Regions from separate parts of the Homo sapiens genome. Here all the other regions are linked to region 1. Evidence: promoter capture Hi-C in human tissues and cell types (Jung and others, 2019). All regions are on one chromosome and are shown on one strand. The core of a region is centred on a gene start or on the middle of the fragment in contact, and the rest is flanking DNA. Distances in the headings are between cores, read along the strand shown. Region 1 overlaps DIXDC1 (DIX domain containing 1). Region 2 holds the start of DLAT (dihydrolipoamide S-acetyltransferase). Region 3 holds the start of ALG9 (ALG9 alpha-1,2-mannosyltransferase).

Region 1 (3,395 bases), core at 233-2,732:
GGGACAGTGTCCATAGGCACTCAGAATGGTCCAGCATTTGGCATACCATTGTAGGCTTTTCTGCAATACAGCCTCTAACAAAATTAGGCTGTCCCAAATCCCTGTTCACAGAACTGTTTACCTTCATACCAAGAAGGTTGGGAAAACACCAAAATCTGCATGTGGCGTGTGCCCAGGCCGACTTCAATGAGTTCCTGCTGTGACACCTAAAGTTCTTAAGAGGTTCTCCAAAATAAACAAAGGAAAAAAAACATGTTGGCTGGGTGCAGTGGCTCATGCCTGTAATTCTAGCACTTTGGGAGGCTGAGGTAGGCAGATCACTTGAGGCCAGCAATTACAGACTAGCTTGGCCAGCATGGCAAAACTCCGTCTCTACTAAAAATACAAAAAAACTGACCAGGTGCAGTGGCTCACACCTGTAATCCCAGCACTTTGGGAGGCCAAGGTGGGCAGATAGCTTGAGGTCAGGAGTTCGAGACCAGCCTGGCCAACATGGCAAAGCCCCATTTCTAATAAAAATACAAAAATTAGCCTGTAATCCCAGCACTTTGGGAGGCCAAGGCGGGCGGATCATGAGGTCAGGAGATCGAGACCATCCTGGCTAACACGGTGAAACCCCGTCTCTACTAAAAATACAAAAAATTAGCCGGGCACAGTGGTAGGCGCCTGTGGTCCCAGCTACTAGGGAGGCTGAGGCAGGAGAATGGCGGGAACCCAGGAGGCGGAGCTTGCAGTGAGCCGAGATCGCACCACTGCAGTCCGGCCTAGGCGAAAGAGCAAGACTCCATCTCAAAAAAAAAAAAAAATACAAAAATTAGCCGGGCGTGGTGGCAGGCGCCTATAATCCCAGCTACTTGGGAGGCTAAGGCAGGAGAATCACTTGAACCCAGGAGGCGGAGTTTGCAGTGACCCAAGATCGTGCCACTGCACTTCAGCCTGAGCGACAGAACGAGACTCCATCTCAAAAAAAAAAAAAAAAAAAATTAACCGGGCTGGTGGTGTATGCCTGTAATTCCAGCTACTTGGGAGGCTGAGGCACAAGAATCCTTTGACCCCAGGATGCAGAGGTTGCAGGGAGCTGAGATCGTGCCACTGCACTCCAGCCTGGGCAACAGAGCAAGACTCTGTCTCAAAAAAAAATCCATGTCAGCAAGGCCTGTGGTTGTTCTATGTGTACTAAATGTGTCTGTGACAGAACCAAGCGTGCCTTCCTTATTCAGGAAAAGAAAAAGTATTGAACACACCAGCACAAAGTCAGAAAACTAAACAAATAAATGAAGCTCTTTCGCATAACAATTAAAAAAAAAAAGAATTATATTTTGATTATGACCCTGGATCTTGGTCAAGAGAGGCAAAGTAGGAATGATCAGATTCCAGCTAGGCTTACAGTGATAGTGTAGCTAACAGCTCCTGGGGTAGCTGCCCAGCCCACAATGATTCCCTCTTCTTTAAGAACCCTCCTCTGTGCACACAGTGGTGGGTCCTATGACCAGGTTGGTATTGTATCACCCCCTCCACTGGTCACACTTGATTGGTCTGCCAAAGTTGATTGGTGAAAGCCAGCCAATCCCTGGAACTTTCTGAACTGGCATTTAGGAATAGAATCAGTCTTCCTCCTCCTCCCTCATCTCTCTCAAAGTTGTAAGATATAAAACTTAGACGTTGCCATAGGCCATGCTGCCCACCTGAGAAGGAAAAACCAGCTCTAGTAAATGGGAATAAAGCCAGCATAGAAAGAAGCAGACAAGAGGCAGAGAACAGAGGAAGAGATCCTGCCAGTGTCAGAGTTCTTGATTTCATTGTTTCTGCTGCATCCCTGCCCTTTCCATGGTTTAGTTTTTCTGCCTTTCCTTGGATTCCATGAGTCAATAACGTCCACTTCCTATCCCTGCTAGTTCAAGTTGGGTTTTTGGCACTTGTAACCGAACTAATTTTTTAAAAAAGACCAAGACAGTTGGTACATACTACGTGTGTAACAGTGTTGAACTAATCTCAGTCTGGAGTTTCATGACTAATTTGTTCTAAGGAAGCTAAAAGGATGCCAGTGTAATAAATGTCTAGAACAACTGAAGGTTTTCATGGTAACCACCCTCTGAGTCAGGCCTCAGAAGAAGTCAGTCAGTAGACATAACAAGAGTTAAAACTGTCTGAGAAGGATTTTGGCTTGATGAGACTGGACCCCTCTAAAGTTGTGAGAGCAGTGATAGTACCACGAGGTGGCCGGTGGAAGGAGGCTTTAGCAATCCCATAATCTCCATCAGCTTCCTCCAAGACACTCCAAATAACCCTATGATTTTAGGTAAAAGTCTTCTAGTATACACAATTCCATCCAAAATCTTCATTTGTGCAGGAAATCTTGACCTTGAAAGCTTTCTTGCCACCAAATGTAACCTTCTTCCTGTTTTTCTTTGGGACCTGCCCTTCCTTCCAAACAGGTTTGTAAGCCGAGCCTCAGTTCTCTATCTCCTCCAAGACTCAAGCTCACAGAATTCCTGCAGGGGACTTATTTGCTAGAGTTGCGAAAGCACCAATGGGGCTTCACCAGGGAAGTATGTGGTATCTACTGTTCTTAGAGCAGAAACAGCCAAGGAGGCGACTCTATGTTTTCCTGCTGGCAACAAGAAAAGCAAACAAGAAAAGCAGAGAGCTTTTGTGGTATGCTAGAGAGACAGTTCAGGAGGAGACATGAATGGCTCAGGAAGGAAATTAGTTTTACAGTGAAACCAGATACCTGTTTAGAACTCTGAGACCCTCCAGCAGCAGAAGATGAGGAGATGAGGGTGGGGAAGTTGCTGAGAAACTAAGAGCAAGGCTAGAGATTTAAAAACCTTATGTTATTATTGGCCTAAATTCTGCCAGTAAACACCCTATTGTATTTCTTTTCTATTAACTCTTTCAGCCCTTTACTGAACCTGCAAAAGCTATTTGTTCATTGAATTTGATGGCTAATTGGGTACAAATAAAGTTCACAAGTAAAAATATCCTTGAATTTCTTCTTCCTTTCATGGACAGGTTCTTTGTACAGAAGTCTCCCTTACCCATAGTTTTTCTTTCCACAGTTTCAACCACCCATGGTCAACCACCGTCTGAATATATTAAATAGAAAATTCCAGAAATGGGCCAGGCGCAGTGGCTCATGCCTGTAATCCCAGCACTTTGGGAGGCTGAGGTGGGCGGATCACGAAGTCAGGAGATCGAGACCATCCTGGATAACACGGTGAAATCCCATCTCTACTGAAAATACAAAAAATTTAGCCAGGCGTGGTGGCACGCATCTATAGTCCCAGCTACTCGGGAGGCTGAGGCAGGAGAATTGCTTGAACCCGGGAGGCGGAGGTTGCAGTGAGCCAAGATTGCGCCACTGCACTCCAGCCTAGGGGACAGAGCAAGCCTCC
Region 2 (3,395 bases), core at 404-2,903, 80 kb before region 1:
CGGGAGGGAGGTGGGGGTCAGCCCCCGCCAGGCCAGCCGCCCCGTCTGGGAGGGAGGTGGTGGGGCCAGCCCCCCGCCCAGCCAGCCGCCCCGTCCGGGAGGGAAGTGGGGGGGTCAGCCCCCGCCTGGCCAGCTGCCCCGCCCGGGAGGTGAGGGGCGCCTCTGCCCAGCCGCCCCTACTGGGAAGTGAGGAGCCCCTCTGCCCGGCCACCACCCTGTCTGGGAGGTGTACCCAACAGCTCATTGAGAACGGGCCATGATGACAATGGCGGTTTTGTGGAATAGAAAGGGGGGAAAGGTGGGGAAAAGATTGAGAAATCGGATGGTTGCCGTGTCTGTGTAGAAAGAGGTAGACATGGGAGACTTTTCATTTTGCTCGGTACTAAGAAAAATTCTTATCCTGTTGATCTGTGACCTTACCCCCAACCCTGTGCTCTCTGAAACATGTGCTGTGTCCACTCAGGGTTAAATGGATTAAGGGCAGTGCAAGATGTGCTTTGTTAAACAGATGCTTGAAGGCAGCATGCTCCTTAAGAGTCATCACCACTCCCTAATCTCAAGTACCCAGGGACACAAACACTGCGGAAGGCCGCAGGATCCTCTGCCTAGGAAAACCAGAGACCTTTGTTCACTTGTTTATCTGCTGACCTTCCCTCCACTATTGTCCTATGACCCTGCCAAATCCCCCTCTGCGAGAAACACCCAAGAATGATCAATAAAAAAAATAAATAAATTAATTAAAAAAAAAAAAAAAAACTTACCTCTGCAATTAGGTCACCTTCATTGATTTTGTCCCCCTCTTTTTTTTCCCAACGGGCTATGGTGCCTGCCTGCATTGTGGGGGAAAGAGAAGGCAATGGAACCTGGAAAAGGAAAAGAAGAAACATTAAAATTTTTAAGGACTACCTAACTCTCAGTCTGGCTTAAGATTTCATTCAATTCAATTTCATGCAAAGTGTATACAGTTCCATTGCACATTGGGAACTAGGGATGCCAAGGGAGTTCCTGTCCATGAGAAGTTAGTAATTTCCAGTGACAGGCTTTCTCCTCCACAGTCCTGTGGGTCTGACAAAGCATGAACCTCGGCAGATATTCTGCATACAGCCCCAGTCTTGAAGCTCTCCTTTCAATGAAATAGATCATGAGAGGGACACTAAGGAGCTACAGCAAAGCCAACTATTGGACAAAGGGCCAAAGCAGATACTGGGAATGGGTGGAGGATCAGTGAGGCCTCTCAAGGAGGATCTTGCAGGCATCCAGTCAGCTCTGAAGGACAACGGGGTCCCGAGAAGGGGGGTCTAGGGCTCACCTTCTGATGCGGGGGAAGACTGTAATAGCGGCGGCCGGGCGACCCCAAAAGCTGCAGCAGTAAGCGGTTCCGCGGCGTGGCCCCAGAACTGGGGGTCCAGCCGCACAGTGCCCGGACCCCGCCATACCCTGTAGTCACGCTGTTGCGACGAGCGGGAGCCGGGCCAGATCGCGAGGTCACTCGTGGAGTTCCGGGTACCTCCTGCAAGGCCGTCCACCGAGCCTCGAGTCCCGCCCATGGGGCTACATTCTGAGCCCGTCGCGCACAGACGCGCCACATAGTGCCACCAACCCCCCACACCCCAAAACCAACGCCGTCTCCGGAGTGACCTCTCCAAGAGCAGCGGCGTTGCCGTCAGCCACACCGCACAGCCGCACGTTGTCGTAAAATGGTTCCCGCAGGTTTACTCCACCCGCTCCCCAGGCCAGAAATGCGCGGCACGCACGCTCTTTCTCTACGGAGCGGGGACGAGGGGCACTACGGGGCAGGAGTGTTCCAGAGGGGCCTGTGCGGGCGCAAGTTTGGGAGAAATAACAGACGGAAAGGGGTGGAAAGTGGTAGGGTTCTAGGGGAGGCATCCGAAAGGGTGAGACGGGGCCTAAGAGATGACAAGGGCACGACCGAGGGGGAGGGGCCTAAAAAGGCGCAGAGACGCGGGTTAATTGCGGCCGAGTGGCCTGAGAGTCTGGGCCGAGGGGCGTGGCCAAGCTTTCTGGAAAAGCTGGAAGTGAGCCCGGGAACTGGCTAGGGCAGTGGGAGCCTCAGGCCAAAGGGCGGGGGTCTTGGAGTGCTGGGGTGGTGAAGGAGCCAGGAATCGCCCGCGAGGGAATCGAGGGGTCCGGCGTGGTGACCTCTGCTTCTGCGCATCCGAAGGGGGATGGACTGGGCCGCGCCCCGCGCAGGCTGTACTGGTTGCAAAGATTTCGTTTCAGGTTTGTAGCCCAAGTGGAAAGTGGAGTGAACAGGTGTTCCACCCAGCCAAGTGGTAACGAAAGGCAGCCCAGAGGAAGATACATTCCCGCATTCATGTATACTGTAGCAAGATTAAGCATATTCCCTGTATGAAGATATAGGTTTACAAAACAGGTGTTGCTCCCTAATACCATAGAATTCTTTTAAGTAACCAAAAGCTTCGTTATGTTTCAAATGTTTGAAAAACTTAACTGTAAGCCGTTGAAGGCATGAAGAGTGTCTGCGTGGTCCTTCCATGTAGCCCCAGAGCTTAATATCCAGTAAATAGCGGGGGCTGAATGTATGTCTTTTGAATCAATGAATAAAAAGTCATCTACACATTTTGTTAGGCACGCTTCTCTTGTAAAGTTGTCTTTTAATTAGAAAACATATCGTTTCTGAACTGAAGGTGACATTAGATAAGGAGGAAGCATGTGCTGTGTATCACCACCTCCCCCCTGTAGAGATGGTTAGAGAACACCAAGAACGCAAGAGGAAGTTGGAGGGAAGAAACTTAAAACAAGATTTTAGCCAGGAGCGGTGGTGCATGCCTGTAGTCCCAGCAATGCTTGAGAGGCTGAGGTGGGGGAATCACTTGAGCCCAAGAGTTTGAGACCAGCCTGGGCAACATAATGAGACTCCCATCTGTTAAAAAAAAAAAAAAATGGGGGCTAATCTTGCTAACAATTAATTTGGAAAACTAAAACAGATTGGATGTACTATTTCATGCCTACTTAAATTGGAATGTTTAAGCAGGTACAGCTGTCTATCAGAATAATATGTAAGCAATATAATTGAGAAATATAAAATTTCTAGATTGAATGAAAAGGCATATTTTAAATAATATGAAGAGAGCAATTATATTGTTACAATTATGTACAACTTATGAATTAACAATTGGAAGAAGCAATGAAAGAATAATTGTAATTACTGAAAGGACTTATTACTATTATTTGGGGATGGAGTCTCACTCTGTCGCCCAGGCTGGAGTGCAGTGGCATGATCCCGGCTCACTGCAACCTCCACCTCCCAGGTTCAAGCGATTCTCCTGCCTCAGCCTCCCGAGTGCTGGGATTACAGGCACGTGCCACCATGCCCAGCTAATTTTGTGTTTTTAGTAGATACGGGGTTTCAC
Region 3 (3,395 bases), core at 352-2,851, 74 kb after region 1:
GGAAAGTAGTGGGAGATAAGATTGGAACGGTAAGTTGGGGCTGGAGTTCATGAATACCAAATGCTAGAATAAGGAGTTTGTACTTTATTTGGTAGGCAATAGGAAAACATCCGGTGGTTTTTTATTAAGGAAGTGCCCCAGAGTAGTGCTTTGGAAAATTAACTGGTTAATGTTGCACAGGATGAATTTGAGATGAGTGATCCCTGTGGAGATGCTATTGTGTTAGTCCTACGTAGACAGGGAGGGACCTGCATTAGACTTAAATGAAAAGGAGGAGATGGGTATATGAGATACAGTTAGGCTGGGTGTAGTGGCTCACGCCTATAATCCCAGCATTCTGGGAGGCTGAGGTAAGTGGATCACTTGAGGCCAGGAGTTCCAGACCAGCCTGGCCAACATGACGAAACCTAATCTCTACTAAAAATACAAAAATTAGCCAGTGTGGTGGCAATAGTCCCTGCTACTAGGGAGGCTGAGGCAAGACAATCTCTTGAACCTAGGGGGCAGAGGTTGCAGTAAGCTGAGATTGTGCCACTGCACTCTAGCCTGGGTGAGCAAGGAAGACTCTTGTCTCAAAAAAAAAAAAAAAAAAAGAAGAAAAAGAAAAGAAAAAAAGAGTTAAGCTGGATATTTGAACTTGGTAACTAATGACTGCATGTGAGAATTGAGCAATATGATCAATCTCCATTTTCAATACTTGGGAATTTTTAGTAGGAAATCACAACCTTCTGAGACCTTGTCAAGAGATTAGCATTCCCTCTATAAACTTGTCCCAGTTACTGGCATGGAGCTCGACAGGGTAGGATATAGCTCTGTGATTAGAGGAGTGGATAGAGTGTCAGGATTAGATGAATGACCCCCAAGATATGGGGGTCACAGGTATGATATCATCAATGTGCCAGTATAAAAATGATTGTAGGAAATGAAGACCTTTCACCAGATCTGGTGGGAAGAGAGAGCATGGGCTTTCCGGTAAGATAGTCCTGGGCTGGAACATAGCTCCACCATTTACTAGCTCCAAGTTTATTTAGTTTCCTGGTAAATAAAACAAGGTTGTTGTATTAAGTTTAAAAAGGATAAAATATGTAAAATGCCTACCACAATGCCGTAGTAGCGATGACAGTGATGGACATCTGGTTCAATTTGCCGCACAGAATTTCATCAGTCTACACTCTGCCATTACCGGTTTGTCTCTCTGAAGCAGTTTTTAGCTACAGGCTGCCTCTGTCACTCTTACCAAAATACAGAGAAGGCAAGGTGTTAAAAATGACATTTTAAGGACCTTTTAGTAGATAGCTGTGCTGTGATATTTAACTGAATACTTCACATCTCACTATGTAGATTTCTTTAATCACTTTCTATTTGTTTTTTCATTTAAATAGGGGAGCTGAGAGGTGGTTTTTTTTTTTTTTGAGAATGGAGAATGCTGAAAAGTGACGGAAAAGAGGGTTGGAGGGAGGTAGGAATGGCTAGAGTTAGAAGCAGGTGGATGGGACAGCCCTGATGAAGAAACTCCTCAGGTTCTATTTCTTCGCTACTCGGGGATCTGCCCCAATTGGCCCAGTAACGCTATAATTTAGTATTTTCTGCGCATGTCAAGGTCTTTTGTCCCTCGGCGGACACCGTTTGCCAGCCAAAGCTATGTCTGCGCGCTCACCGACTTCATAGGGTGCCGAATTCTTTTTTCCCCAGGCTTGCCATGGCTAGTCGAGGGGCTCGGCAGCGCCTGAAGGGCAGCGGGGCCAGCAGTGGGGATACGGCCCCGGCTGCGGACAAGCTGCGGGAGCTGCTGGGCAGCCGAGAGGCGGGCGGCGCGGAGCACCGGACCGAGTACGTGTGCGGCGCGGCAGGGGCGTGGCCGGCCGGCGGGGCGGTTCGGGGCTGCCCCCGGGAGGGTCTTAGCTGTGGCGCGCGGGGCTCAGTCCGGCCTGGCCTCACCGCGGGAGGCCCGAGCTCCCTCTTCAGCTAGGTCCTATTGGTCTTCCTGGGCGGGTCAGCATTCAGTCTTCGCCCACCTTAGATCCCTCCACTGCGCTGTAAAACTGCCTTGGAGTGCGGATCTGTGATGCTCCTGGGCCAGGCCTAGAGTGGGCACAGCCTCTGTGGGAGATGTAGACAGGATCAAAGAGTATACCTTTTACGGCTGTTCCTCACAGCTCCTTTTATTCTCCCTCAAGTCCCGACCCTTTACTGGGCCCATCCAACCCGCCATCACCTCTTCCCAAACCCTGGAGGCTGCAGGTTAGAACTGCATTAAGGGAGCTGTCAACATATGGAATTGGAGTAGGCTATGTACCTTGCACCTAGGCTTCTATCTGAACATAAGGGGGAATGAATAAAGCCATCAAAAGCAATGACCTTGTTAAGAAAAGAAAGAAAAGGAGAATGACAGCTTTGTGGCCTTCAAGTGAGTGATTAGTTGGCTTGGGATAAATGGAGTGACATAAATGCATTGAGCTAAAGTGTATGAGTTAATTTATGCCTTAAAAGCAGGAAGTGGAAGGAGTGATTGAGTGATTAAAGTCAATTCTTCAGAAGGCTGAGGCAGGAGGATTACTTGAGCCTAGGAGTTTAAGTCCAGCCTGGGCAACATAGCAAGACCCTATCTCATAAAAATTTTTTCTTAAAAATCTGAATTTTTATTAATTTTACTGAGAAAAAACAACTAGCTATTCACCTTTTTAGGTGAATAACTTAAGTGCTTTGATGTCCCTTGCCCTTTTTGTCCTTTCTATCTAGATTTAGGTCTTCTGATTAGCAGGTCCTTCCTGACATGCTTTTTTTTTTTTTTTTTTTTTTGCTTTTGAACAGGTTATCTGGGAACAAAGCAGGACAAGTCTGGGCACCTGAAGGATCTACTGCTTTCAAGTGTCTGCTTTCAGCAAGGTTATGTGCTGCTCTCCTGAGCAACATCTCTGACTGTGATGAAACATTCAACTACTGGGAGCCAGTAGGTGATTTCTTTAGTTTTCTCTTTTTGTTCTTGATTTTGCAGCATAGGTGTTATTACCAATCGAGAGACAAATAATATACAAGTGTGACTCCTAGTAAAATAACTGTATTTTCTTAAAAAAAAAAACAAAAAAACAGGCCTATAATCCCAGCACTTTGGGAGGCTGAGGCCGGTGAATTGCCTGAGGTCAGAAATTCGAGACCAGCCTGACCAACATGGTGAAACCCCGACTCTACTAAAAATACAAAAATTAGCCGGGCATGGTGGTGGGCGCCTGTAGTCCCAGCTACTCGGGAGGCTGAGGCAGGAGAAATGCTTGATCATGGGAGGCAGAGTTTACAGTGAGCCGAGATCACACCATTGCACTCCAGCCTGGGCAACAGAGCGAGACTCTGTCTCAAAAAACAGAGATGGGGGCTCATTATGTCACCGAGGCTGGTAT

Evidence for each region. Contacts are between HindIII fragments. The study calls those that stand out against the background at their distance.
Region 2: the fragment with the promoter of DLAT here is called in contact with a fragment that was not itself captured in region 1 in 3 of the 25 tissues and cell types used here (dorsolateral prefrontal cortex, hippocampus and spleen).
Region 3: a contact is called between the fragment with the promoter of ALG9 here and a fragment that was not itself captured in region 1, in 2 of the 25 tissues and cell types used here (bladder and hippocampus).

Annotation. Positions count from the first base shown.
Region 1 is chr11:111,943,523-111,946,917 of GRCh38, reverse strand. The region is part of intron 1 of DIXDC1 (DIX domain containing 1); the gene reads right to left. Among named protein-coding and RNA genes, the nearest start is that of DIXDC1, 7.9 kb to the right of the region's middle. The HindIII fragment of the contact is 6,003 bases long and covers 1-3,395 here.
Region 2 is chr11:112,023,666-112,027,060 of GRCh38, reverse strand. DLAT (dihydrolipoamide S-acetyltransferase) reads right to left here and starts at 1,653. Exons shown (of 14, transcript NM_001931.5): 1 at 1,310-1,653; 2 at 762-863. The coding sequence starts at 1,588. RefSeq lists enhancers at 1,652-1,851, 2,502-2,691. The HindIII fragment of the contact is 3,303 bases long and covers 1-3,132 here.
Region 3 is chr11:111,869,787-111,873,181 of GRCh38, reverse strand. ALG9 (ALG9 alpha-1,2-mannosyltransferase) reads left to right here and starts at 1,601. Exons shown (of 15, transcript NM_024740.2): 1 at 1,601-1,830; 2 at 2,812-2,950. The coding sequence starts at 1,700. RefSeq lists a silencer at 1,656-1,965. The HindIII fragment of the contact is 8,331 bases long and covers 1-3,395 here.